Regions from separate parts of the Homo sapiens genome. Here all the other regions are linked to region 4. The links are contacts of gene promoters, found by promoter capture Hi-C in human tissues and cell types (Jung and others, 2019). All regions are on one chromosome and are shown on one strand. The core of a region is centred on a gene start or on the middle of the fragment in contact, and the rest is flanking DNA. Distances in the headings are between cores, read along the strand shown. Region 1 overlaps WDR25 (WD repeat domain 25). Region 2 overlaps WDR25 (WD repeat domain 25). Region 3 overlaps WDR25 (WD repeat domain 25). Region 4 holds the start of BEGAIN (brain enriched guanylate kinase associated).

Region 1 (6,533 bases), core at 2,611-5,110, 140 kb before region 4:
TGCTCCCTGTCTCTCTGAGTCCTGCCCGGCTGCAGGTGGAAACCTGGGCCTGCTCTGTGGGGTGTGTTCACACCTTAGGCCAGGGCAAGGTGGAGCTGGGTTTGAATATTGCTCTTCTGACTCCAAGCCTGTCTTTCCTCACCACTGCATATAACAGCCTCATTAGGTTTGTAATACGTGGCAGCTGCATGATCTGCTGGGTAAGAGACACACATTTAGAAAAATTTATGTGCCACATGCTTTTCCTTTCTTTATTTCTCTTTCCCCTGAACTGAGATAAAAAGGAGAGTCACACACAAGCAGATGTCAGAATGACTGCCTTGCTTCGCCCCATCTACTGGAAAAGCCACCGACTGAATTCTTCCTAACACCGTTTCTGTTTATGGCAGATATAGGGTGGGGGTGGGGGGCAGGGCCCTCCATTCTCTGCTTTCCGTGCTAGCCGAAGCCTTAATTCAAAAACAAATTGAGTCCTTCAGCTGTCACTCGATTGTTCCCTCTGATTTTGGGGGATAAATATCATTGCTGCAGCCTCATGTCTCCTCTCTCTCCTTTTCCCCAAAGCTTTTCCCCTTTTATTTTCTCTCTCTGCCCAGAACTCAACATATCTCTGACAAAAGCATGCATTATTTAGAGCCTGTCGCCTCTTGAAGTTCTTTAATTACAGAATTAAACCAAAGTAATGACAGTTTAATTTGTTCTTTCATTAATTGGGAGCGCTCCGGGCTGATGTGAAATGAGCGCATTTGGAAGGCATGAGGAATATGTACTGAGTGATTGGAGCATGAGTAATAATAATTGCTGTCGTTTAGTGCCGGGCGCTGGCTAGGTGCTCCTCATGCATATTCTCTGTTAATGCTCCCTGCAACCTTGAGGAGGAGATACCACCTTCTCTGTTTTGCGGCTTAGGATCTTGAGGCTCAGAGAGGTGAACCAACAGCCACCTGTCAGCCAGAGGAAGAGCCAGGCCTAGACACCAGGAGCCCAGCCCCAGAGCCTTATCCTGTCCATAGCCCCACTTGGCCTTGAGACCAGCAGCTGTGGCCTCAGGATTCTGCAAGGGGTGGCCCACAGGAAGATGGGCACACCTGGCGGGGCATGCCTGAGAAGGACTAAGTTGTGTCTGGCTGAATTTGAGGCTGAGAGGAAACATTTGAACCCGTGAAAATGGAAGGAAATTGGCGGTCAGAGGGAGCTGAAGCCTCACTGGTGCTGATGGAAATTTTGCTACTTCGAAGGTAGCAGTTTGTCCTCCCGGGAGCCCTGCAGCCACTGAGGGGCATGCCTGCGAGTGCATCCGTGCCACTTAGTTGTGGGTCAGGGAGGCTGCTGCAGGGAACCGCAGGATGGACATCTCTAAAGCATATAGTGAAGGGTAGAATCCAGGTGTATGGGGCCCCGTCAGGCCTGCTGGTCCCCCTTACCCTAGCTAAGGCCCATGCCAGAGCTGCTACCTTTCCATGGACACGTCTGGGTCCAGGTGACTTCCTTCTTGCACTGGCCCCAGGCCCCAGGCCCCAGGCCCCACCGTACCTGGCAGATGAAGTGCCTCTGATGCCCCTCCGTGGCCTGCAGAAGTTCTGGGTTGGGCCTTTGGTTTCAGGCCCCTGGGACTATACAGAGGGTGGATGGTTGGTGCATTCACAGTACTAGTGGCTCATCTGGAGGGCTGTGTCTAGAAGGAGGCAGCGGCGAAACAGCTCATCGTCCTCCTCACGTCCTTAGGGACTTGAGCCTGGTGTGTACCGACACTGCGCTCTCTTGGCAGCAGGCAGTGAGGGACAGGAGAAGAACCAAAGTTGATAGTGCCTTCTGTGGCACCTTCTACTTCGTCACTTTAATTCCCTTTAAGCTTCCCCACCACTCTGGAAAGTGGGAAGATTAGCCCCGTTTTCTAGCTGTTGAAATGAAAGCTCAGAGACAATGGTCATTTACCCAGGCCACATGGATTGAAGGGGCAGAACAGAGTTAGGATTCAGGGGTGTCTGACCCTGAAGTCCCCCATGGAACTGGGCCTCTGTGTTCTTGCTGTCACCCCATATCCCCACCAGGCACCCTCTCACTCACTCTGTTCACATCTCCCAGCAACCTCAGAGTTTTACCCTATGAGTTCTCAGACAAAACTTTAGAATTTATTATCAATGCATTTCTCTGCAGCAAAGTCTGGATGAATTTAAGATTAGGGGATTCGGTTACACTTTATTACTGTTTGTCATTAAAAATCATGCAAATAAGCCATGGAATAAAGTAACTTGTGTTGTTTTGGACACCAGATTTACATGTTTACTGGAAGAAAAATGATGCTGAACTCCTTCAAGGTGGTAATAAAATTTTGCCTCAGAGCCTTAGCTTTGTTGGTCTTTTTCTATAATTTACTCCACAACTTCCAAAAAATATTTTAAACTAGTTTATCATAAAACTCACACCAAGGGTTTCAAAACATCCTTTTGTAAAGGTGAAAAGAAGACTGAGAAGCTGCATAGGCTGCAGGCTGGGAGTGGAGAAGGAAAGACCTGCTGCAGCCATGTGACTCAGGGGCCTGAGAGGTGAATCAAAGCCTCCTTGTTGCCAGGGCTGAGACGGGGACAGGATGGCTTCTAGGCTTCCTGTCTTTGGATTTTAGTAGGAAGTTTCCAGGCTTTTGTTCTGAAACCCCCAGGTTGCTTCATTTAGCTTCCGACCTCCCTGTAGGAGGAGGTGGGCACAGAACGTGTTTGGAAGCGTCTGGGAGAATAAGGACCAGGCTAGAAAGAACCTTTGTTCTACCCTGACTCAGGCATCGGCCATCCTTTCAGAGCCCATTTCCACCACAGTTGGAAGAAGTAGTTGGGGTTTAGAACCCTGTGATTCCAACCCATGCTGCCCCTCCAAGAAGACACGGGGCGAGGCCCGGCCATACCAGTGTTGAGGTAAAGGATCTGAGGCTGGCCATCCTGGTAGATGAAAAGAGGGTTCAACCCAGGATGACCCCAAGCCTTTGGGTTAACTGCTGAGTTTGGTGTTTGCCCCAGATATTATACCCCCTGACTGTTTCAGTGCTGTGCTCCACCTTCCTCCTGGCGTGGTGGGGAAGGGTAGCCATGAAGCTCAGTTGGAGTATAGAGGAGGAGCCTTCTGGCTTTGTGAGCTCCTGCCCCTGGGGTCCTGCGGTGGTGGTCACAAGTGACACAGAGCCATGACAAGTAGCATTGTTGATGTTGATGATCAGAATTAGTAAAAATGGGCTGGTCGTGGTGGCTCATGCCTGTAATCCTAGCACTTTGGGAGGCCAAGGCAGGTGGATCACTTGAGGTCAGGAGTTTGAGACCAGCCTGGCCCACATGGTTAGGCCATCTACTAAAAATACAAAAATTAGCCAGGCATGGTGGTGGGTGCCTGTAATCCCAGCTACTTGGGAGGCTGTGGCAGGAGAATCACTTGAACCTGGGAGGCAGAGGTTGCAGTGAGCTGAGATCATGCCACTGCACTCTAGCCTGGGTGACAGAGGAAGACTCCATCTCAAAAAAAAAAAAAAAAAAAAAGTAAAAATGTATAAATCACAACACATGGTAAGTAACACAATACCAATCATAATTCACTTCAAAAACAGCAGCTTGAAATTAATCAGCAGTTGTGTTGTTTCTTAGAAATATCAGAAGCCACACGCTGTGTCTGAAAGCTTGTGAGTAAGAATGAGGAGGAGTGACAGGCAGATCAGCCAACGATAGAGGGGCTTCTGTGATCTGGGCAGGTGTCGCTGGTCACTCCTGGCTCTGTGGGCGTGGTTATGTCCTAACCCTGTGAGTTCTTGCTGCTGTCAGCACCGCATGGATGCAGGGATTCCTGGCTGTTAGTTACATGGCCAAGCAGCTTCTGAAAATTATCGTCTGTGGCCACAGAAATCCTTGACTAAGTGCTACGGAGTCATCATTATTATCCCATCACATGATTCTTCTTAATCCTTTAGAATCACTTGTTAAACTTTAATAGGTAAGATAATTTCATGCTCATTGAAGTAATGTAATTATACAGACTAATTCAACGCTATTAGAAAATTTCTGGGCTCCATTTATAATAACAGCTAATGCATTCTAAGTACAGTTTGTTAGGGAACCTTGCATATTCAACCCAAAAGAACCCCAGGTTTGCGCGTGAGCTTGGATGCTGAGCAGTGTTGAGTGAACTGGAGCCTACTGGAAGCTGTTCCATTTGTCCTTAGGTGACTTTTTTAGAAGTGATTAGACTTGGGGATTGTTTCTCAGAAATGGACTGGAGACCCATAAATCTACAACGATTTTAATTTTGGACACCAACCTGGAGCCCACAAAGACAACTTCCCACGAGTTAGCAGCAGTGCTGGGCAGTAGGGGGGCACGTGTGCTGAGGCGTGGGCGTGCCAGCCTTGCAGTGGAGGAGGGGCTGCTCTTTGCCACGTGTCTGCAGCTCTCTTCCGGTCTCTGGCTTGAACAGACTGGGGAGCCTGAGGTCACATTTTACTTGTCTTTTGGGAGGGAGGTTGGGGTAATCTGGGGCAAGGGGCTCAGCCAGCTGCCACCCAGACTTGAGTGCTCTGTTTGGTGGCACCAGACATGGTGAGGTGGGTGGTATTGAGCAGGGTGGGGGAGGCAGCAAAAGCCAGGCCTACAGAATTACACTTCTGTGGCCTAATGATTTTCAAAAACCATTTGCGAGATTGAGGTAATGTATTTCCCAGACTTAAGCAATTTACTCCTTCCCACCGTGCTGAATCAGGCTGTTAAATCCTCTTGCTGTGTGCGTAGAGCTATTGGCACCAGGGAAAAATGGTCAAGTTCAAGGCCCCTGCCAAATCTGTGCTCTTTTCTTTGGAAAGTGATGAGTAACTGCACTTTAAAAAAAAATGGGCTGGGCGTGGTGGCTCACGCCTGTAATCCCAGCACTTTGGGAGGCCGAGGTGGGTGAATCACCTGAGGTCGGGAGTTCGAGACCAGCCTGACCAACATGGAGAAACCTTGTCTCTGCTGAAAATACAAAAAATTAGCCAGGCGTGGTGGCATTTGCCTGTAATCCCAGCTACTCTGGAGGCTGAGGCAGGAGAATCACTTGAACCAGGGAGGTGGAGGTTGTGGTGAGCCGAGATCGTGCCATTGCACTCCAGCCTGGAAAACGAGCAAAACTCCGTCTCAAAAAAAAAAAAAAAAAAAGAAGATTTTAGGAACATTGGAAAATGTTAAGTGAAGAAAGCAGGATGCCAGATTGTACATTCAGTAGGATCTCAGGAGAAACAATGTCTGCATAGAAAAATACTGTGGAAACTGCCAGCAGGTTGCAGGGCTTACCTGTGCTTGAGTGCAAGGATTAGATCCAGTGTCCCCTCTGTTCCTTTTCAGCATCTTACCCGTTGCCCAGGGTGGTGACACCTGGGCCCCAGGTGAGAAGCGCCCCAGAAAGAGAAGCACATGCATGCTGGCCGTGAGTCATGGGCCTGCTAACTTGCTTGTCCTGTAACCTTGGGCAACTTCCTTCCTACTGGGAGCCCTAGTCTCTTCATCTGTATAGTGGCCCAGTTACACTATCTCAGAGGAGTGAGGGTCACTGCCAGGACTCCGTCACCTGCGTAAACACCTGGCAATGTGGGCATGTGGCAGTCTAGATAAACCATAGCCTTGTGGTGGTGATGGGGTCATTATAAAAATGCATTGTTTCTTTCACAACCAGGAAAACATTACACATAAAAGAACAGGGCAATGACTGGAGGTGGAAAAACAACGCAGCCTACCTAGCTGCATGGAGACCTATGGGAACATCCACTGGACCTTAACTTGGCTTATGGGAGTCAGGAGGGCTTCCTGGCGGAAGGAGTGTCTCATGGGAGACAGGAGAGAAGAGTAGGAGCCAACCAGGTGGAGACAGAGGAATGTACTTCAAACAGAGAGAAGGCATATGTAAGGCTGGAGGTTCAAGGAACAGAGTGAGTTTGGGAAACGCACCTAGAAAGTGGCGTGCAAGGACGATCGTGATGGGAGATGAGGCTGGGCAGGTGAGTGGGGCCTCCGGAGTCAGCCACTGACTTTCCCACTGTAGCTGTTTACAACCCCCTAAGCCCTTGGGATGTGCTTGGCAAGATAAGGCCTTATGGCTAGAAGGCTCGGAGAGCATCCTTTACTGGGCTTCTGGATGGAATTTTTGGAGCAAAGGGTTAGTACTCATTTTTATGCAAATTGAGAAATCTTGATGAAAACGATCACTTCCATCCCAGCCCCATCAGGGAGGGCCAGGGAGAACCGTGGCTTCGATAATGGTATGGGCCTGTTGGAGCCTGGCTACAGGGCTGCCCCGGGAGGCCTCCTTTGGGAGCAGAGACAGCCTGGCACTGGCCTGTGGCGGTTGCCATGGCAGCAGGACATGAGCAACCTGACTTTCTGAGAGTGGTCACCTCTATTCCGGGGCCCTGCCCTGGCTGGCTGTTGCATTGGGGTGGGAGAGGCTGTCTCAGCTGGGTCTCTGGAAAAGCTGAGGTCAGGAGGCCTGTGCCCTGGGACATGGCTATGTATGACAGCCAGGACACTCTGCCT
Region 2 (6,817 bases), core at 2,144-4,643, 180 kb before region 4:
AGTTGCTATGACTTAAGTTGATAATGGACCCCACACAGTAGTCACTAATGGATGATAATCTAGGAGTGTTTTTGTTATTGTTTTTATTTTAGAAGAAAGGTTTGAAATTAGCATAGTAAATCTCTGTGGGATCTTTGCAAATAAAAGAATGTTCACGTTAAAAACAATTTTCAAGAAAGATGTATGGTAATGAATAAAACATCAGTGAGTGAAAATAAGCGTGTTTAATTATTCAAGTAGAAGTAGTAATTTAAACTAATTATTGCTTGCGGATTTCATAATTCAGTTTTTGTCTCACAATAATATTTCCTCTGGGCCTCCGGGGCGCGTCGGCGGCTGCTCGCTGTTCCTGGGGCGGGAGAGACCTCCCCCTCCCCGTGGCTGCAGCCTCTGCCCCACCGAGCCAGAGCCAGAGAGGCCCAGTTTCTGCTTCTGCCGGCCTCCTCGTGGTCTCAGTCCACATCTATCCCCCTTGCACTGCCTCATTAGGCATTTCCTTGCTTATCACCTTCTCTGGTTGATTCGGGCATCTCAGACCAGTTCTGTCCATTGAGGTCTGAGTGTCGTGGAGGCTGGTCCCCTGCCTCCTCCCCGGTGTCTTAGACTTCCTTGGCAGGGGTGGCCCTGAGCACCCTGCCCATGTCCCCAGGAGGCAAGTCCTTGCCGTTCAGGGCTGCCTCAGGTTGGATCCCCTCCAGGAGGCTCCCCTGCCTGGGGATTGATCACTTCTTCCTCCCCAGTGCTTTGTACCAGCAGGTTCTGGTGGTAGTAAGAGAATTACAGAGAGAATTTGTTGGTTGACATTTTTCTTTTTTGGGCTTCTTTTTACTTTGTTTCTGATCCTAAAGGAAGAAAAACATATTCATACAGAGGAATGGAAAAGTACCAGAGAGCCTGAGAGGCAGTGGGGAGGACACTTCATCCCCTGGAACTTGCACCTGGCTTCTCTGCTCCTGGGTGGCTCTGCACGTGTCTTAGTTCTGCTCATTCTGTGTATGCAGGCACTTGCCATTTTCTCTGTGGAATTTGAGGGCTTGGATGTGATTTTTAGCATGGACACTTTGGAGGGGCTCAGTTACATTCTCCTTGGTGCACCTCCTGGGGTACAACTGGCATTAGCAGGTGCTGATGAAGGAGTAGGAAGTGCTGCAAAGCACTTTTGCTCAATCGTGCGAGGCTTTTAAAACCCAGTTATTACTGCTACTCCCATGAATGCCCATAATGGCACAGGAGGTTTTCTGAACCTTTCTTTATTGCACAAATGCTCCTGGAACAGATCTTGACAATTCAGGTGAATTATTATTCTACCCCTCAGAAGGTAAAGGGAAAGCTTTCTGTTTGTAACTTTTTCTTCCCAAGTGTCCTCTGTCAAAAGGTAGTGACATCTTCTCTCCTGATATGTGACGTCCATTATTACCTCGGTATAATCATAAAGCTCACACCCAAAAGCTTTCCATCCAGCACGTCAGAGGGACAATCTTTATTTAAGACACACTCCCCCACTTTTCTTTGTTATTGCTTTCTCCTAAAAAAAAAAAACAAAACCAAAAAATCAAAAAATTCCCTTGGCTTTAAAGGCATGATCTGGGCTAGGAGTGACTCGTTCTTTTGCAAGGTTATTGTCATAGGCAGGAACAAGACAGGTGGGACATGGGGGTGGACAGAGTGATGCGCTGTCAGCCAGGGGCCAGGGGTCCAAATGGGGTTCTGTCATTTTCCAGCTGAGCCCTCGGCAGGCCAGGCAATTTCTGGGTGTTGGTTTCCTCTCTTGGCAAACATAGAGGCTCAACTGTGTTCTCTGAGGCCCTTTTAAGCTGAGTAGTTTTGTGATCTCCAAACTAACTGTAGCTAAATGAGGTAATGAGAGAATTACAGGTGTCCCCCAAACTCTTCCTGCAGAGTAGTTGAAATGAGCATTCATGATTCTGAATCGGTTTTCTCTCCCTGTGAGCTCCAGAGGAAGTCATTAAGCAGAGAAATTACTAACACCTCGTGACCACCGTGGAGCAGAGCCAGGGGCACGAAATAAAATGCCATAGGGATGAGACCCGTGCAGCCAGCCAGCACTTAGGGAGATCTGCTAGGAGGACACCCTTAGGTTGTCCTCCTGAGGGTCCAGCCCTCTCTGAGGGGTTGACAGCTGAGCTTCATTACGTTCTTGACCCTGTCTCGCTGACCTCAGGGCTTCTGTATTAGCAGTGTCCAACAAATGGTTGTTGGGGTGAATTAAATTTTCTCTTATGGATAGTGTCCTATCCTTTCTACCAAGTAAGCTTCCTCTCGGGGAAGAGACCATTCTTCTTTATTTCTTTGAAAACTGATTTTTTAAGAATAGAAATACAAATTGGTATTTGATGTACAGAGAAAAATGAGTCGTGCTCCCATGCTCTGGATCTGGAGAGGCCACATCTGGCTCATCTCTGGATCCTAGGGAGCATCAGCCTTGCCGTGGGAAGCAAAGCGGGCCTGGGCTGCCTTGAATTAGAATGACCTGGCTGCCTTTCCAACCAAAGCACATATGGCCAAATGTTGGGAGAGTGAATTGGAGGCAAAAGCCTTTGGAATTATTGGGATCGTTGGGACTCCTGGGAAGGAACTGGGCAGATTTGTGTTTGAGCCATGGCTCTTTCTACCCTAGGTCTGGGGAAGGTCCTCTGCTTCTCCCCCACTGTTTCTTGTAAAGTGGTGCTGGCATGCTTAGCCCGCAGGGCTGTTGTGTATGGTCAGGAGATAGCAGCCCTGAGTAGTGCCCAGAGCTTAGCACAGATACAGCAACTCTGGTTCCTTTGAAGATGGAAAATGAATATGTATCATTTGGCAATGATAATGTAAAATCAGTGTGGAGGTGTGATTCCATTAATAGATTGCTGATGAACTCAACTTTTTAGGAGCCCGTTTGTTGCTTAGAGTGAAGCTGGCTGGAATGAGGCAGAATTAGAATGACAGGCCCACTCTTCTAATTGAAATGCACATGAAGTGCTTGGCCCTCAGACTTCCATCGAGATGATTGCAGTGATCAATATTCCAGTTTGCTTGGCTGGCAGCTTCCGGGGAATAAGAATGGATGATGGACCCAGGGAAAGTACTGCCAAACAGAGCATTAAGTTAATTCCTGTTTGCCTGGGTTCTGGCCTGCCTGATGAAGTGCCTTGAGTAGAATGAGGCAATGTTGGTGTGGACTTTATCATGGGCTGTACCCAGTATCACAAGAGCTCAAGGTGGCTGCTCCCTGACATTCACTTTTGGTAGCAATTAGAACTCCCATTTGCTGAGATCCTACCATGTGTCCAGCCCAGTGCTGGGCCCCATACGCACATGATTGGTCCCCCTGAAACCTCTGAGGTGCCGATGGCATGCCCCAACCTGCGTCCAAGGACCTGGGGCTGAGAGGGCCTCAGGGCACGGTGCTGCAAGGTGCGGAGCTGGGAATGGAGTCCAGGGCTGTTTGCTCCCAAAGTCTATGTTCGTTCCACTCTCCCACGCCAGCCCGTAAGTGTAAAGCAGATGTTTGGAACCTGGGTTCTCATTTTCCTGTAGAATCAGTGTTATTCATGGCAGTGAGGGCCTGGTCTCAAAAGCTGGGTTTACCACTGACAGTGTCATTTCTCATGTGGTTTTCACCTTGACCTTACCACCATGGGAGGCAGAGCGCACACCCCTCTGGTGTTCCTGGCTGGGAAACAGGGGCCCCTACCTGTGGGCTGCGTGGGCCAGGAGGGTCAGCAGGCCCTTGGGGGAAGTGCAAATGCATCCTTATCTCTGTAGTGCTTCCTCCCAGGCATAGGGTCCGCTGGAGGCCTGGCGTTCCCATGGGGCTCACTGTGTGTGCAAATGTTCTGTCCCAGTTCAGTCTGCTGACTGGGAGATGCTGACCTGACTCTGTTTCTCTAGGGCCATGATCCTGACTCTGAAATGCCAAGTATACACCCCTCCCTCCTCCTGCCTGCATTCTCCTTCTGCTGTTACATGGGGGCATGCACCCCTCTCCCCTGCAGCTCTGGCCTCTGCTGGGCCCATCCCTCCTGTGAGTGACATGGTTATTCCTTGTATCATTGTCTGAACTTGGCACTGGTGTGTTTGGGCCCTTCCTCTTAACCCTCCTACCTTGTGTCCCCATGCTAGTTCTGTCTTTCCTGTGCTCGCAGAATCTGTCTGTCCTCTTGCCCCCACCTCAGAGGCTTCTTCCAGTCTCACCCCCTCATTCTCAGAATTGAATTTTTTATCTGTGGAAGGTGGCAGCTGGCAGCCAAACCAGGAGCCTAAGTCTTGGGCAAAGCTTCAACAAGGATGCTGAGCTCAGGGGCCTAGGAATCCTCTCTCTGCCCCATCTTTTTTTTTTGAGATGGAGTTTTGCTCTTGTTACCCAGGCTGGAGTGCAATGGTATGATCTCAGCTCACCGCAGCCTCTGCCTCCCGGGTTCAAAGGATTCTCCTGCCTCAGCCTCCTGAGTAGCTGGGATTACAGGCATGCACCACCACGCCTGGCTAATTTTGTATTTTTAGTAGAGACGGGGTTTGTCCATGTAGGCCAGGCTGGTCTCCAACTCCCGACCTCAGGTGATCCACCCGCCTCAGCCTCCCAAAGTGCTGGGATTACAGGCATGAGCCACCATGCCTGGCCTCTCTGCCCCATCTTATAGGCACCCTGGGGCCTAGGATGGGGCTGGGGTGCAGGGGATGGGGAGGGAGGCTGGGCCCCCTGGAGGATCAGTAACTCTGTTATATGTCTTCACTATAATCTCATTTTGGGCTGCACTCTGCTTTTGTTTTTGTTTGGGAGCCTGCTTGGAGGCCAGCACTAACAGAAACATGCAAGGGCAGAAGCAGAGCTGGCCATCGGGAGGTGGGTGGCCTGCAGGGCCTAGCTCTGTGGCGCATGGATTGGTGTGTCAGTCGCCCTTCCTGGCAGCAGCTCTCAGTGATTAGGCTTGGAGGAGCCTTGGCTTTAAGTTCTCTTTGGGGAAGGGCGGATATTAGTGCTTAAGAAACGCCACTCCCGAGGAAACCCACCTGGATGTTTTTCTCTGTAACTGGCCATTTGGAGACAGGGCCAGGCTGTGCATAGGCTTTTGAGTTTCTCAGGTGCCTACATGGGGCTCAAAATGATGATGCAATCAATCCGTTTCTTGACTTTTGGGCCTGGGTCCAGCTCAGAATGGAGGTGTGCTCCATGGGCTTGCCTTCGGAGAAGATGGTTAGCAGGGCTGTGGGAAGGGATGTGTGGTGGACAGAGGTACAGGCTCCCCAAGGCTTAGAGGCTTCAGAAGCCCATGTCAGGCACGTGGGGCCCAGGTTCAAAGCAGAGGATGGAGAAGGGAGGGTTAAAGCCTTCCTTCTGACGTTGATATGTGTGTCTCAGCACTGGGACCTGGAGCAGTCGGCTTCGGAGGCCCGTTGGACTGTTGAATATTGATGGTGTGGGTTTGGCTGAGGAGCATAGGCAGGTGTGTTTGCCATTCTTATGTACTCAGGAGGGGTATGAAGGGCAAGTCAGTGGCACAATTCAAGCAAAGTGCTGCTGTTACTCGAGCATTTGCTGTGTGCCAGGATCTTCACACGGACAGCCTCAGTTTTCATAGGAGTCACTTTTAGGCATTTTATCTCCATTTTGCAGTTGAAGCAATTGATACTTAAGATGGTAGTATCTTTGTTTAGTGTGAAGAGCCAGGAATTGAGTGGGGAATGCCCTTATGGCAGCAAGACAGTGGCACCAAGTCCTGCCTAGGTGGCTTGTCCAATGATCAGAGTCCAAGGCCACATTGCTACCAAGTGGCAGAGCTGGAATCAGCGCTACTCAGCCTCACACATTTTGCTCCCTGTGCCTCTTCAGAACTTCGGCCTGTCACATGTGTGCAGCTGTGGGAGCCCAGATTGTGAGTTGATCAAGGTCAGGGCCACACCCTGCACTTCCTGCCTGACACAGAGTAGGTGCTGGACAGACATTTGTGTTGTGAAAGAGTGAGTGAGTGAATGAAAGACACACCATGGGGATAGAAAAATAAGGGGCAGGCCCCAGGGCGGTTGGCAGATGTGAAATGTGGTTTAAAGACTTGGCAGTAAATCTGTGGCTAGGCCCCCCTTCTCCTTTCATTCCCTTCTTCCTTCCTTCTTGGGATTCAGAATTGCTCTCTGGGCAGAGGGCTGCGGAGCAGGAGCGAGGCTGCAGGTGTGAGAAGGACCCCGCCGTGCCAGGGCAGCCTCAAGGAGCTGTTGAGCGAGTTGAGCCCAGAAGACAAAGGTCGCTGAAGTCCTTCCAGGAGAAGAAGATCAATGCCTGGGCTGAGCCTGCGGTTAACATCTTAATAGTAACCGGAGAGTTTCTGAGAGATTAGGTGATGATATATACTCAGAGCTCAGACAGTTAATTTGCATTGTGTCCTATATTCCTGAAAAGTTGCTTTCAGATTCTTATTGATGTGCTCACATTTTTTGGGGTAATTGTCCTCCTTTGACATTAATAACCCCCCTGTTTACTCTCAGGCTCACATACCTCTCAGAGTCCAGGAGGCAGTGAGGGAAAGCTTTTAATTCAAAGCCCTATCCATCTTCCCAACTCAGGTGAGATGGGGACTAGAAAGTCGGTCTGGCTGAAGCTAAGTGAGGCCAGCCTTCTGGGTGTTGGGTATCAGGTTCTGGACGGGGCTGGCAGTTGTGTGTGGGGCTCATGGATGGTTTTAGGCCCTTCTGCCCCCTTTGTCAGTGTGCCCTTGTGGGAAGCCGGTGCGTTTCCAGGGGAGCTGCTGGAGGCTTCTTATGGCATGCAGATCAAGGAAGACCTGTAGACTACATGCACCCTGGCGCTCTGGGTATGTTGTTT
Region 3 (6,792 bases), core at 1,594-4,093, 170 kb before region 4:
TGAGCCACTGTGCCCTGCCTTCTTACGTCTTATATCCACACTGCCTGTGATTTTGTACATGATACACACAATGTCACCTAGCACTGGCCTTTCTGACTTTCATGCAACTATTGAAAGTGAAAAATTTGGCCGGGCACCGTGGCTCATGCCTGTAATCCCAGCACTTTGGGAGGCCGAGGTGGGCGGATCACGAGGTCAAGAGATGGAGACCATCCTGGCCAACACGGTGAAACCCCTTCTCTACTAAAAATACAAAAATTAGCTGGGCGTGGTGGTGCACACCTGTACAAGTCCCAGCTACTTTTGGGAGGCTGAGGCAGGAGAATTGCTTGAACCCGGGAGGTAGAGGTTGCAGTGAGCCAAGATTGTGCCACTGCACTCTAGCCTGGCGACTGAGCGAGACTCCGTCTCAAAAAAAAAAAAAAGGTGAAAAATTTGCACAACAGCACAGTAGTGCAGCCTGCCAGTCTCAGCCACAACGGTCAGGGTCTATGCTAAGGTGAGTTTATGGGACATCCCTGGGAGTTTGGGGTGGCGGTGGCGGGGGGGGGTCCTACTCACGCCACACCTACTCCGGGAGGGACCTGGCATTGGACTCAGGTTGCCAGGCAGGGGTGTGGAGTGGTCCCTACACCCACAATTCCTGTGACTCCCATTGTCTCACCTGAGACCCTGGCCTTGAAATGATGGGCTCTAAGTAAGTTCTATTTCTAGGCCGGGCGTGGTGGCTCACGCCTGTAATCCTAGCACTTTGGGAGTCCAAGGTGGGCGATCACCTGATGTCAGGAGTTTGAGACCAGTCTGGCGAACATGGGGAAACCCCATCTCTACTAAAAATACAAAAAAAATTAGCTAGGTGTGGTGGTGCACACCTGTAATCACAGCTACTTGGGAGGCTGAGGCAGGACAATTGCTTGAACTCTGGAGGCGGAGATTGCAGTGAGCCGAGATCACGCCACTGCACTCCAGCCTGGGCGACAGAACAAGACTCCATCACAAAAAAAAAAAAAAAAAAAATTTATTTCCCGTCTCCACAGGGGTCTCTCTGCGGCTTCCTGGGGCCTCGCTCCTTCCGCCTACCTCTTTCTTCCTTCTCCTGCTGTCTACCCTGTGATGTGATAGCTTTCTCGGGGAGTGTTCAGATGAACAGTGTTTAGAATTGTTGAATGCTCTGTTGGAAAACAGAAAAGGCTATTTCATGAGCAGATGATGACCTTATTAACTATAATTAGGCAATTCACAGAGGCTTCCAATATAGTCCAGCATCTTTTCTTGTTGAGATGGGGGGAAAATTCTATGGTAATGTCTTTGGAGATGTAATAGTCTTTATCACATTACTAGTTTAAATTATTCTAGAAGTTTTGGCAGCCTGGTGTTTTCATTTAGAAAGCCGAGGTATAGTTTTACAGTTAGCCACATTAATATAATAATTATAATTTTGAGCAAGTAATTTCAGACACTGACATCAAGAGTTGTTTTTATAGCAGAGAAAGATCACAGGTAGGAAGGTGGAACCTCGCGTCTAATCTATCTAATCTGTCACAAATAGGATGATGTTGTGAACACAGGCAGTTCATGCCCCTGGCCCATGCTTTATATTATGGGACAGAGATGCAAATGCTTAGAAACTCCCCCTGTATTAAATCCCCAGAGAACACGCACATTTGAAATTAATGGGAAATTGTCTTTTCTAAAGAATTTGGTATGCAGGGGCACATGATGTGGAATTTCCCCTGGGTTCTTTGTATCAGGTTGCCCCATTGCCTTGGGCTTGTGTGAGAGTGGACCTGGGAGTGAACGGGTGCTCGCAGGGCCCACCTGGTGGTCAGTCTGTAACTGTGGCTATGAGCAGCCTCCCACCCTGTAGGCCCCTCACAAGGCCTAGTTGCCTGGATCTCCAGGGGCATCTGGAAGCCTGGAAGCTACTGTCTCCTGGGCAAGGAGGCCTTCACTGCCTCCACAGCCCCCATCTGCACATGGGCCGCAGGCCCTGGCAACCCCTTCCCCCACTTCCCTCCACTGGCTTGGACCTCCAGGCCCACAGCAAGTAACTTTTGGTTTGTGTTTTACCTTTCACTTGTAAGCACATTTTTTTTTTATCGTTCTATAGGGATTTTTCATATATCATTTTGGATCCTGTTTTTAAAGCTCAGTATCCCTGTTTTTACAGCCTTCAGGATAGTCATCTTCTATCATGTGGTTGTACCACAATTTGCTAGTTGTATCCCTGTTGCTGAACATTGAGCTTTTTATTCCAGCAGGTTTTTTATTGTTGTTTTATAGGCAGTGCTGCAGTGATCATCTTTATGTACATAATATTTAGCTTCTGTGCAGTTAGTTTCTTAGACTCTATTGCTAGGGTTGGAATTGCTAGCCAAGACTAAGAATAACTTTTTAAAAATATATTAAAATCTTCTTATAGTAATAATATTTGAAGAACAGAAAAAGGTAGAAAAAGGAAAATAAAGATGCCCAGCTGTCCCATGATGTGGTGTTCACCACTGTATTAGCTAGGAGTGTATGAGGCTGCAGATAACAGGAAACCCAACTCGAGTGGCTTCAACAGGTGGAGAGAGACTCGTTTGTCTCAGGGAACAGGAGACTTGAGAGAGAGTCCAGGGCTGGACCCAGGTGAAGCCATGCTGTGAGCGACCCTGGCTGTTTGCATCTTTCTGTCCCACTGTCCTGGATGTTGCTGGCCTTTGTCTATGCTATGCTTTCCTCATCTCAGTCTTCCTTTCTTACCTCTGGCTGGATGAGTCTTTTTATTTCTGTCTGCTGAAACAGTGTATCTCCTGCATTTGGGTCATTATAAGAAGAAATATGATTATTTTTCCTGCATGTCCCTCGTCTGCAACTGCCTGTGTTTGTGACATTCCATTCGGCCAAAACTGGAATTTTAACAGTGTCCAGACAGAGAAGAGGAAGAGTAGGCATCAGGACTAGGAAAGAGCTCCTCTTTCTTATTAATGGGATAGTCTTTCATCCCTGTGTTTCAAGTTCACAGAGTCCCTTGGGTTAGAAAATATCCTTTGCTCTCTCCTTGATTCCTATGAACCAGAGAAGGGGACAGAATCTTCCTGGGCTTATTGGTCCCCCAGTCAGTCTTGCAAAGGGAGGTTTATTGAGCACTTACCATATGCAGCAGGGGGTTGTGAGCCACAGTCGTGGCCTTTGGGAAGCTCACAGAAGAGGGGAGGAAGCAGGCTGACTTACCCCTGCCCTATCACACTGTTACCCTTGTGTCAACCAAGCTTAACCTTGGCTGAGTAGAAATGAGTGATTTGTGACCTATGTTAATCCTACAGAAAAGAACAAAAAAATAAAATAAACTTCCATAGATGCACCACCAGGTTTTAGTTATTAGCATTTTTCCGTATTTATACTGGGTACCTCTTTTTTGTTTTGTAAGGAATGAAATATGGCAGATAGAGCTAAAACCCTACTTCATTCCCTTTCCATTAGTGGCCACTCCCCTGACGTTGGTGGGCATGCTTTTAAATGTTTCCTGCATATGTTATGAATGACATAAATAATATGTAATACTTTTGTATTTTAAAGGTTTATGTACATGTTATTACACTCTGTGGTTTTTTGCAATTTGCAAAACAGTCAACATTATGTTTTCTGTTATCTCTCTATCCATCCATCCATCTATCCATCTGGTTCATTCAATTTTCATTGGTGTGTGGGATTCCACTGTATAAATAAGCTCAAGTTTATTTACTCATTCTCCTACTCCTGGAAGGTTGTTTTTACTTTTTGTCTCTTGCATACAATATTGTAGTGAACATGTGTTCCAGTTTTTTATTGCTGTTTAATAAGCCACCTCTAAACTTAGTAGCTTAAAACAATAATGTTTATTTTGCTTCTGAATCTGCAGTTTGGGCAGGGCTTGGTGTGGGCAGCTCATCTCTGCTCCACTTGGTATCATGTGGGGCAGCTCAAAGGCTAGAAATGGAAGCATCTGCAGGTCTGTTCGCTCAGCATCCGATGAGTGATTCTGGCTGTCTGCTGGGACCCTGGCTGTGCTGTTTGCTGGAGTATTACATGTGGCCTCTCCATGTGGTCTGGGCTTCCTCATCCCATGGCAGCTGGGTTCTAGGGGCTAGTGTTCTGAGAGGCCCCTATACTGAAACCAGATTGCTCTGTGACCCAGCCTCAAAGGCAGGCAGCATCTGTTGACTTCATTCTGTTCTTTGGAAGCAAGTCACTGAGGCTGCCTCCCATTCAGGGCAAGGGAGATTGGACTCCACCTTCAATGGGACGAGCCTCACAGAGTTGGTAGACCTGTTTTCATACTGGCATTTATAGATGTACATCCTTGTACACCCCTGTGAAAGCTTCTGGGGCTGGGACCCCTCATGGTGACTTGACGGGCCTTCATGATGGCCCTCTTTGACGCGACCACATGTTGCCAGCTTCCCCTCCTGAGTATTTGTTCCGTGGACGCCCACCAGCGTACTGAGCGTTCCCATTTCTTCACACCCTCTCCATCATTTGCTGTTAGGGATTTTGATTTTTTGCCCCTCTGGTGGGTGTGAAATAGGATCTTATTGTTTTAATTTGCCTGCCCACTGGCGAGGCCAGGCCCTGTGCTCCATCCTGGGGGTGGTGTTTTATTTCCTTTCCCAGCTGGGTGCCCTAAAGAAGACAGAAACGTCAAAGTGCTATTTTTTGGCTTATGATGTCAATTTTTCAGGATTGAAGTGGCGAGCGTCCCACAGAGTTTATTGCAAACTATTATGAAGGTCTTGGAGTTACTGTTGGTATGACTCATTTATGAAAAAAATATGATTTCAGTAACTGCAGGCTGTATTTGTAATGTGATAGATTTTCATTTAATCTCTCACCTCTCTATAATTTGCCCAATTTAAAAATGCCCTGAAGCTTGCTTTCTCTTTGTCTGGGAGCCCTGTTCTTGGTATGTGTTATTACAATAATAGTAATAAGAAATTGTGCCAATATGTGTCTCTCTTCCAGCTCTTGCTGTCTCCTTGGTCATTTAATTACTTCTGGTACTGATTTCCCCCAGCCTGATCTCCCCTGTTATAATAGCGTGTGCATGAAGCTTCTGTGGAGAATGCCACTGAGGATGGAAGCTGTCGGTGGTTGGCAGGCCCCAGTGTGGGCATACCTGGACCCACGGGCTGGCTGTGGGCTTCCTCCTTGGGCCACATAGCACCCAATTAGTCAGACACACCTTATTCCGATCGTACTGTGAGGTTGTAGAGGAAAGTCCCTTCAGATCCTGGCACAAAGGCTGGCATTGGGGAGTGTTTAGGAAACGTGTTGAACCAAATAATTCAAAATGTTCGGTTATTATAATTATCAAGGTAACCTGCTGACGTCACTCAAAAACATCTGGAAAATAGCCATGTCAGATCAAGAATTTTATGATGAATTTCCTCGAAAACGGAACTTTTGACTACTTTTAATTTAATCTGGTTCCATCTGAACACTCTGAACACTATTTGCAGCGTGCTGGAGAACATTATCTTCTCTGCTTCCCTCCTAAGGGGTGTTTGGATTCTTATCTGTGTTGAGAACCAGAGCCTGTGCTGCGGAAATGAGATCTTGTCTGTGCACTGAGTCAGCCCAGGTCTTTTGCAGGCACTCAGGAAGCAGCATCTACATCTTGAGGGGCTACTTTTCTGGATTGTGTGGGTGCAGCGTGTCCTGAAAACATCACTGGGCACTGCTGTCCATACCTTATGATGGGGCACGGGCCACTCCAGGAGTCTCAGGTGGCACAGCTGCCCAGGATGGGCTTGGTGCTGGTCCCAGGGAGGCAGATGACACGTGTTGCCCCTCAGAACAGTGGGGACAGCCAGGTGTGCCACAGGCCATCTCGCAGGGCCTCCCTGTACCAACCAGATTGGGTATAAACAAGGCATTCATTACCTGTTGTTTTAAGGGGAGGAAGGCACCACGGGCGAGGCCTCCCAGGCTGGCTGGGTGAGTGTTCCTGAGCCCAGGCACTTCGATGCCCACACTACTTCCAGGGAGCTGAGTTTCAGAGCCTGTGGCGTTTTCACACCATGTTCTAGGTGCCAGCAGAAGTCTAACAAGGAGCAGGGCATTAGCCTCTGTTTCCATGACAGACTGTTCACAGCCTCACAGTTTGCATCCCGTGTAAACAAACATCAGCACCTGTTATCCTAATTAAACCTCAGACCTTGTTTGCATGTTAAGAGTTAGCAGGACAATCCTTTGCTACTGGGGACCCGCCACTGACCCCAGGGCTTTCTTGTATCAAGAGGAACAAAATGGCATGAGATTGGGACCTGGGAGCAGGCCCCACACCAGGTGTGACATGCCTGTGCTCAGCCAAGGGGTTTAACTGCCTGTGGAGTCTGGGGCCCAGGGCCCTGCTGCCTGTCCAGTGTTTGCGTGGGAATGTCTTGGGCCTGGGGATGTAGAGCCCAGGTTCTGGGACCAGCCCTTCCTGCCCTGGTGTCTTGGTTTCCTAGAATCTTGGTGCGATTCGGTGGTTAGGCTGATCTCAGGGTTCCTTTCAGCAGCAGTGGCAGCCGTGACCACCTACTATGGACCAGCTTCTGCCAGGCACCTTGTAGTCTAGCAGAGTAAGTTTGATCATTCCATTCCACTGACAAGGAAACTCAGGCTCAACAAGGTGATGCCTTTCCCAGGACATGTGCTCCTGTTGCCCTGCCCCTCCTGGCATAATATCCCACTTCCTGCTTGGTGGCTCAGGCCTGTCAGTCACACAGCTCGTGGCTTCCCCATGAAGCATCTCTTGGGTCTGTCTGTTTCTCTCTTCATCCACAC
Region 4 (6,743 bases), core at 2,642-5,141:
ATCCAGTCCTGTATCCATATCAACTTTTCCATCTGTCCACCCACCCATCCCTATCTTGCTACTTACATCCATCAACCTCTCCTCCCGTCCATCTATCCCTCTTTCTCTCTTTCTTTCTTTCTTTTCTTTTTTTCTTTCTTTCTCTCTCTCTCTTTCGTTTTTCTTCCTTTTTTTTTTTTTTTTTGATGGAGTCTCACTCTGTTGCCCAGGGGCTGGAGTGTAGTGGCACGATCTCGGCTCACTGCAACCTCACCTCTGCCTCCTGGGTTCAAGCAATTCTCCTGTCTCAGCCTCCCAAATGGCTGGAACTACAGGTGCACACCACCACACCCACCTAATTTTTTTTGTATTTTTATAGAGACGGGGTTTCACCATATTGGTCAGGCTGGTCTTGAACTCCTGACCTCAGGTGGTCCACTCACCTTGGCCTCCCAAAGTGCTGGGATTACAGGCGTGAGCCGCTGCGCCCAGCCTATCCCTCTAGGTTTCTACCCATCCATCCGCTGCTCTATCCTGCTAGTGCTTCCCTTCCATACAGTATCATCCACCCATGCATCCCCTTCAGCATGCCTGCGTTGCTTCTCCACCTCATGCACCTCTTAATCCCAGCATGCACCCACTGTGGGATGACCAGGCTTCCATGTCTGGCTTCCCCAGGCAAAGCCCAGGCCTGACCCATCTCCATCCCTGACTTGGGCTCAGGGCTTGCTGATTGAACCAATGACTGCAATTCCCCTGCTTGGCTCAGAGCTGGGCCCTGGCTGATCCCCACCCCAGGCAGACCACAGAGGCTGCTGTACTGTCCTCCAGACTCAAGGCCTGCTGAGGCAAGGGCCACTTTTGAGTTCCCTTCCTGGCTAGAGGGGAGAGAAGAGCCCCAGCAGCTCCTGACTCCTGCCGTACTGGCCAAGGTCCATGTCTCCCAGCAAACTGTGGACTCGTGGAGGGCAAGGTCTGTGTCAGACTCACCTAAGTGACCCCAATGAGCAGTGCAGAGTGGGTGCTTAGGTACAGCATGTTAGGTGAGTGTAGAATTCACACACTTAGTCATTCATCATTCATTCATTCATTCATTCCTATAATGATTAAAGCAATAGAGACACCTCTGGCCAGCTTCTCCCACCACAGGCTACAATCTGATGCCTGCTCTCAGGCCACAGAAGTCACTCCCCTGACTGTAATGGGTGTTAAGCTTCTGATACGGAGCCCTAGAGAGGAGACAGTGAGTCAGCGGCAGAGGAGGAACCAGAACCCAGGGCTGCAGACCTCCGTCCAGGCCTCTCCACTAAGGCTAGCGACCAGCTCTGCGGCAGGAAGGGGAGTCAGAAGAGAACCATGCGGGGTGATTCTAGACCAACACGGCGAGTCCTAGGGTCACCCACCCATCTGTCCCAGGGATCCTTACCTCCCTTAGGGGGAGGAGCCACACCTCCCCACCGCCATGGCTTCCACACTCCAGCAGGACACAGCCTCTCTAAGTCTTGAGACTTGAACACTCTACACTCTCCCCATCACCTTCAGGCCTTGGGCCAGGCTCCTGTAACACACCTTGACCCCTTCATCTGTTCAGCAACTACTCAGCCCTTGGACCCCACCTCCTGGGACCCTGGGTAATGATTTGTGGACTGTGTCCAATAGCCATGGACTCATGGGCTTCAGTCAATCCCTCCCATCCATCCATCCATCCATCCATCCATCCATCCATCCCTCCCTCCCTCCCTCCCTCCCATCCATCCATCCATCCATCCCATCCATCCATCCCTCCCATCCCTCCCATCCATCCCTCCTTCCCTCCCTCCCATCCATCCCTCCCTCCCTCCCTCCCATCCATCCATCCCTCCCTCCCTCCCTCCCATCCATCCATCCCTCCCATCCATCCCTCCCTCCCTCCCATCCATCCATCCATCCATCCATCCATCCATCCATCCATCCATTCATCCATCCATCCACTCTTCAGCATCAGGAGTGCCTGCAGGAGTAGGGAAGCTCCTTCAAAGTGTTGCCGTGGAGATGATGCGTGGAAATGCTGATCCAGGGCCCAGTACATAGCAGGCGTTCCATAAATGGCAGCTATGTGGGCCAGACCCTGCGCCCAAGTCTTGGGAGAGTGGATGGAAGATCTTCCAGATTGCTTAGGGCTCATTTCCTCTCTCCAGGCCTGGGCTCTGACAGGTGTCCCCCTACTCCACCCCAGCGCATGGAAAACTCATCCTCCAGGCTGAGGTTCTAGGCAGCCCTCCCCTCCCCACTCAGCTCCCAGGTGCGAACAGCTCCAGGTTTTGACGACAAACGGAACGCGGAGCCTTGGAATCTATAAATATGAGACAAAAGCTGGGGAGGGCCCTTGGCGGCAGCGCAGCCGCCCATCGCCCAGAGCCCGTGTGCTGAGCCCGGGCAGAGCCGCATCTGCCACAGTGCTTGCTTTTCCAAGCTGCCCTGATTATAGTGAGAGTCGGGAAAATTAAGGGTTTGCAGGATGCTGCTGGGGCCCTCTCTGCCGTCTCCCCGCCCTGCGTGTCACAGATGCCAGGCAGAGCCACCCCCAACGGCCAGTTGCCCCTGCTGGCAAGACCAAGGCCAGCCTGGCAGGGCTGCACACCGCAGTTTGTTAGGGGCTTCTGCCCACAGTCCTCGTGGGAGCCTGGCCCTGGGAGTAGTGGGGGTCTCTGCTGCTCTTGGCAGGCAGAGGAACTAGGGTCCAGAGAAGGAAAAGAACCTGTCCATGGCCTCCAGAGAGCCAGAGCACTGGGGCCTCCGACGGAGCCTGGCTGTGGAGACCCCGCCCCACCCATACCCCCAGGGCCTGGACCCCCAGTCTGCACTGGCGGCCGACCTTGGCCATGCGGACTTTGCACGTGCAGTGCTCCCTATCCATCCGGCCCCGCTCCCGGGTGCCCACTCTGCTCCCATTCTGCCGGCTCAGGAGACTCCAGCGCGTCGCCCACGCTGTTCCTGCCCTGAGGAAACCACATTGGGGATGGGGTGGGGCACAGACGAGGAAGGAAACACCTCTAAACCAAGCAGGAAGCGGAAACGCTGGGGCAGAAATTCCCATCCAACGTGCTGGGGCTCAGGGAGGGTGAGCGCGCCGGCTGAGCCGCTCTGGGCGAGGCCCTGGCCTCCCTGAGCCTCAGTTTCCTCGCCTGTAAAGGGGCAGGAGGATAGTACCTGCCGCGAGGTACTGAATGGGATGGTGGTGTCCGAGGTTCGTGCGCGCCCACGCGCTGCAAACGCTCAATGAGGCGGCCCCGGGTCCAGCCTCCTTCCGGCTCCCGGGCCTTTCTCCGGCCTCCCAAGCAGGGGCTGGCCCTGCCCCCAGACGCAGGCGGGTCCAGGCCTGCCCGCACCCTCGCCACCCGCCCGGGACAGCGGCGGGTCCCCAGTCCTCCGGCCGCGCCCTTGGTCACCCGTCCCTCCTTTCCTTCCGCCGCAGGGGCGCGCGTGTCAGGGCGCAAGGACCCCGCGATAGGACCCGGGCGCTCCCGGCGGCGCGCGGAGGCTGGGCATCCCCGCCCCACCCGAGAGTGCCCAGTTCCCAGGAGACCCGGCCCGGCTCCTCCCGGGCCAGTGAAGCCTCCACGGCGGGGGCGCAGCGCGGAGGGGAGCGGGGCGGGGGGCCGGCCACCTCCCGCGCTGAGCAGGGACCGCCCCAGGCGTGGGTGGCGCCCGCCCCGCCTCCGCGCCCGCGCCCGCGCCCTGCCCTCCCGGCTCGCAGGTACTCACCGCCCGGCGCAGCCGGCCCGGCCGGCGACCGCCAGTCCACATGGCCCCAGGGCAGCCGCGCCGCTCACCGCCGCCGCCGCTACCGCCGCCCCCTCCCCTCCGAGGCCGAGCGCGCCGGGAGCCGGCGCGGCCGGGGCTCCCCCACCCCGCCCGGCTTCCCGCAGGGAGCGCCCGCCCCCCGCCCCCAGCCCGGCTCCCCGCCAGCCCCGGCCCCGCGCAGCCGCGGCTGAGCCCGCGCGTCCTCCCGGCAGCGCCCGGCCGGGGCGCAAGTGGTGGGCGCAGGGCCGGGCAGGGGCGCGGGGGTGCGGCGTGCGCGGGGGCCAGGCGAGGAATGGCAGAGGGGCAGGGAATGAATGAACCCGCGCCAGCTTGAATGGCTGAGCGCGTGAATGAATGAGTGCGGTAGAGCATGCGGGGCTGGGGGGGCGGGGGGAATGAATAAATGAGAGAACTAATGCACGGGCGCGAAGGTGAGTGACAGAGTGAATGGGCCCTTGAAACCCAGAGGCTGTCAGTAATGACCTGCCCAACCTTTTCATCGGTCCATCCATTCAATCCCTCAACATTTATTAGACACCTAGTGTGTACCAACCAGCCCTGCTGTAGGCCCCAGGGGGTACAGTAGCGAGTGAAACCAAGCTCCTGCCCTCGCAGAGTCACATTTTACAGATGAGGAAACCCTGGCTCCCAAGGGTGCCTCCTGGCCAAGCTGCCCCTTACCCTGCCCTTGCTCTGCCCGAGCCCCCAGTCGGTGGCTTCCAGGGCTTGCCTTCTCCCCAAGGAGCTCTCAGGAAGGGAAGGTGGCTTCAGGAGGACCAGTGTTGCCCCCTGCCTATCCCTCCAGTCTGAAGCATCCCACCGACCTGCCCGGTAGAGCCCAGGCTGGCCAGTCCTACCCTGGTAAAGGTGCAGCGTGAACCCTCCTCTCTCCTCCCAGAGCGGGCAAGGGGCAGCCCTGAGGGTGCCAGCTACATGAGGGTCTTCCATCCCAGCCAGCCCAGCAGCAGCCAGCGTGGGAACCCGGGGAGGAGCACTGGCAGCCAGGGAGGGTCCTGCGTGGTGGAAACAGAGCTGGCAAAGCCCGTGTGCTTCGCTCATATCCTCCCTCGGGACCTATGGGCTCATGGTTCACACATGCTTATATCATTTCCAAGTACATGGCAGATTAGAAGATGCTGCGAATGAGTACCTTGTATATTTTTGTTTTTTAATTGTGGAAAACATGGAAAACATAAAATTTACCATTTTAACCACTTTTAAAGTGTACAGTTTGGGGACACTGAGTTCCCACTGTTGAGCTGCCATCACCACCATCCTTATATGCTGTATGTTGTATGCTTTGCAGTTTCTACGCTCTCTCATTTAATCTGGGGAGTAGGTTGCTACATTCAGGCAGTGTCAGTGCTGAGAAAAGGCACTGATAGCAAGGCAAGAGGGGAAACCCAGAAAAAAAGGAGACAAGCAAAAGAACCAGCAGCTGACTGGAGCCACTTCGTGTCAAGCAAAGTCCTGTCTCTGCTCCCTCTCAGGTCCCAGGGACATGATTGGGTAACCAATGGACAGAGGGAGGCGCCTCCAAGTGCACCCCACCACAGTCAAGACAAAATGAGAGGCGGCAGCTCAGGGCGGGGCTCTCCCAGTTTGGGCGAAGCGTGGACAGACTTCGCCCAAACCGTCGCTGGTGTGCACCACGGGACCAGCCTCTTTGCTCAAGGGGGCCTTAGTCTCCCCAGCAGGAGTAGGGACAGGCTCCCTGACCTCCACTCTGGCCTCTCAGGTTCAGACACCATTCAGGCAGCACACAGCAGTGGAGGCATCCTGTGAGAGGTAGTGAGGCCCAGCCTGCCAGCTCCAGTGTCCCTTCCCTCCCCAGTCCCTAAGGGGACAAACACCAATGGGGGATGTGGAACCTGGGGTACAGGCAGGGCTCTGCCCACATTGCCTCCTCCTGGGCTGCGGCCCTTCCCCAGAGGCTGGTCCTGCTCAGATGGTGCCAGAATGTTCACCGCCCGCCCTGGCACTGCTGCTGCCAACGCCACAGATGGCTGGGGAGGCGGGGGAGGGGCGGGTGGGGTGGGGGCGGCTCCTGCTTCAGCTCCAGCAGCTTGCAGGCTTCAGCTCAGGCCTGCCTGGGAAGGCCCCAGGAGAGCCCCTCCCCCATGCTGCACGCACCTCCCGTCCCCACCCTCCCTGCCCTCTCTTCTATCCTTCCCACTCCAGCCCCCTTAAGCTAGGAAGGCGGAGAGAAAGCAGGCATTGGTTGTGGGTCTGGGAGCATCCCTGCAATGCCCCTGTAGGGGAAGTGGTACTAGCCCCTTTTTGCAGATGGGGAAACTACAGTCAGTGCAGCAGAGCCTGGGGCATCAGGCAGGCTTCCTGGAGGAGGCAAGGTTTCAGCCGGGTTGGGAAGAAGGGATGAAAGTGGCAGGACTTCGAGGTGATGCCCTGGGGCCATGGAGGACCCTCTCCTCAGGCCCCTGCCCTCATTCAGACCTCTACGGACCACTCTGTTTGACATCACCATCCCCATGGCTCAATCTCGTTGCCCTATTTTGTTTTTTGCGTGTCTCTTACTGCGTTCCAGAGCTATCTGATCTGTCTGTTGATGTGGACATCAATCTCCCCGCTGGGATGCGTGGTCCTCTACTGTGGTCAGGGAGCAGGGCAGGAAGTGGCACCACACTGGGGCTCATGGTTAAATGTGCCAAAGAATGCATGGATGGATGGAGGTGGGGGAGATAGGAATAGCCTGGTGTGATGCCAGGCTTCTGGCCCTGGTGGCTGAGTATAAAAGAAAGGACAGCACGTCAGGGAAGTCATTGACAGTGAGGCACCCGCAGACAGCCACATACAGGGGCTCCAGCATCAGCTAGCCATGCTGACCAGTTCCCTGCCTCATCTTCCAATCCCCACCCACAAGAACAGATTGAGCAAGGGTTCTGACTATGAGCCCTAGAGAATGGGAAGGTGAGAGGTATCTTCCCACTCTCCCACAAACAACAGGTGCTCCAACTGAAACT

Evidence for each region. Contacts are between HindIII fragments. The study calls those that stand out against the background at their distance.
Region 1: a contact is called between a fragment that was not itself captured here and the fragment with the promoter of BEGAIN in region 4, in 2 of the 25 tissues and cell types used here (dorsolateral prefrontal cortex and spleen).
Region 2: a contact is called between a fragment that was not itself captured here and the fragment with the promoter of BEGAIN in region 4, in 2 of the 25 tissues and cell types used here (mesendoderm cells and spleen).
Region 3: a contact is called between a fragment that was not itself captured here and the fragment with the promoter of BEGAIN in region 4, in 4 of the 25 tissues and cell types used here (dorsolateral prefrontal cortex, mesendoderm cells, spleen and 1 more).

The regions. Positions count from the first base shown.
Region 1 is chr14:100,443,051-100,449,583 of GRCh38, forward strand. All of the region lies in intron 2 of WDR25 (WD repeat domain 25), which reads left to right. Among named protein-coding and RNA genes, the nearest start is that of WDR25, 70 kb to the left of the region's middle. RefSeq lists an enhancer at 4,408-4,908. The HindIII fragment of the contact is 5,305 bases long and covers 1,209-6,513 here.
Region 2 is chr14:100,400,840-100,407,656 of GRCh38, forward strand. The region is part of intron 2 of WDR25 (WD repeat domain 25); the gene reads left to right. LOC105370664 (a long non-coding RNA gene) reads left to right here and starts at 6,119. Exons shown (of 2, transcript XR_944204.3): 1 at 6,119-6,806. RefSeq lists an enhancer at 3,051-3,552. The HindIII fragment of the contact is 4,009 bases long and covers 1,390-5,398 here.
Region 3 is chr14:100,418,225-100,425,016 of GRCh38, forward strand. The region is part of intron 2 of WDR25 (WD repeat domain 25); the gene reads left to right. Among named protein-coding and RNA genes, the nearest start is that of WDR25, 45 kb to the left of the region's middle. RefSeq lists enhancers at 1,406-1,907, 1,908-2,407. The HindIII fragment of the contact is 3,546 bases long and covers 1,071-4,616 here.
Region 4 is chr14:100,583,526-100,590,268 of GRCh38, forward strand. It overlaps BEGAIN (brain enriched guanylate kinase associated), which reads right to left and starts at 3,892. Exons shown (of 7, transcript NM_001385089.1): 1 at 3,724-3,892. The coding sequence starts at 3,765. The HindIII fragment of the contact is 7,942 bases long and covers 325-6,743 here.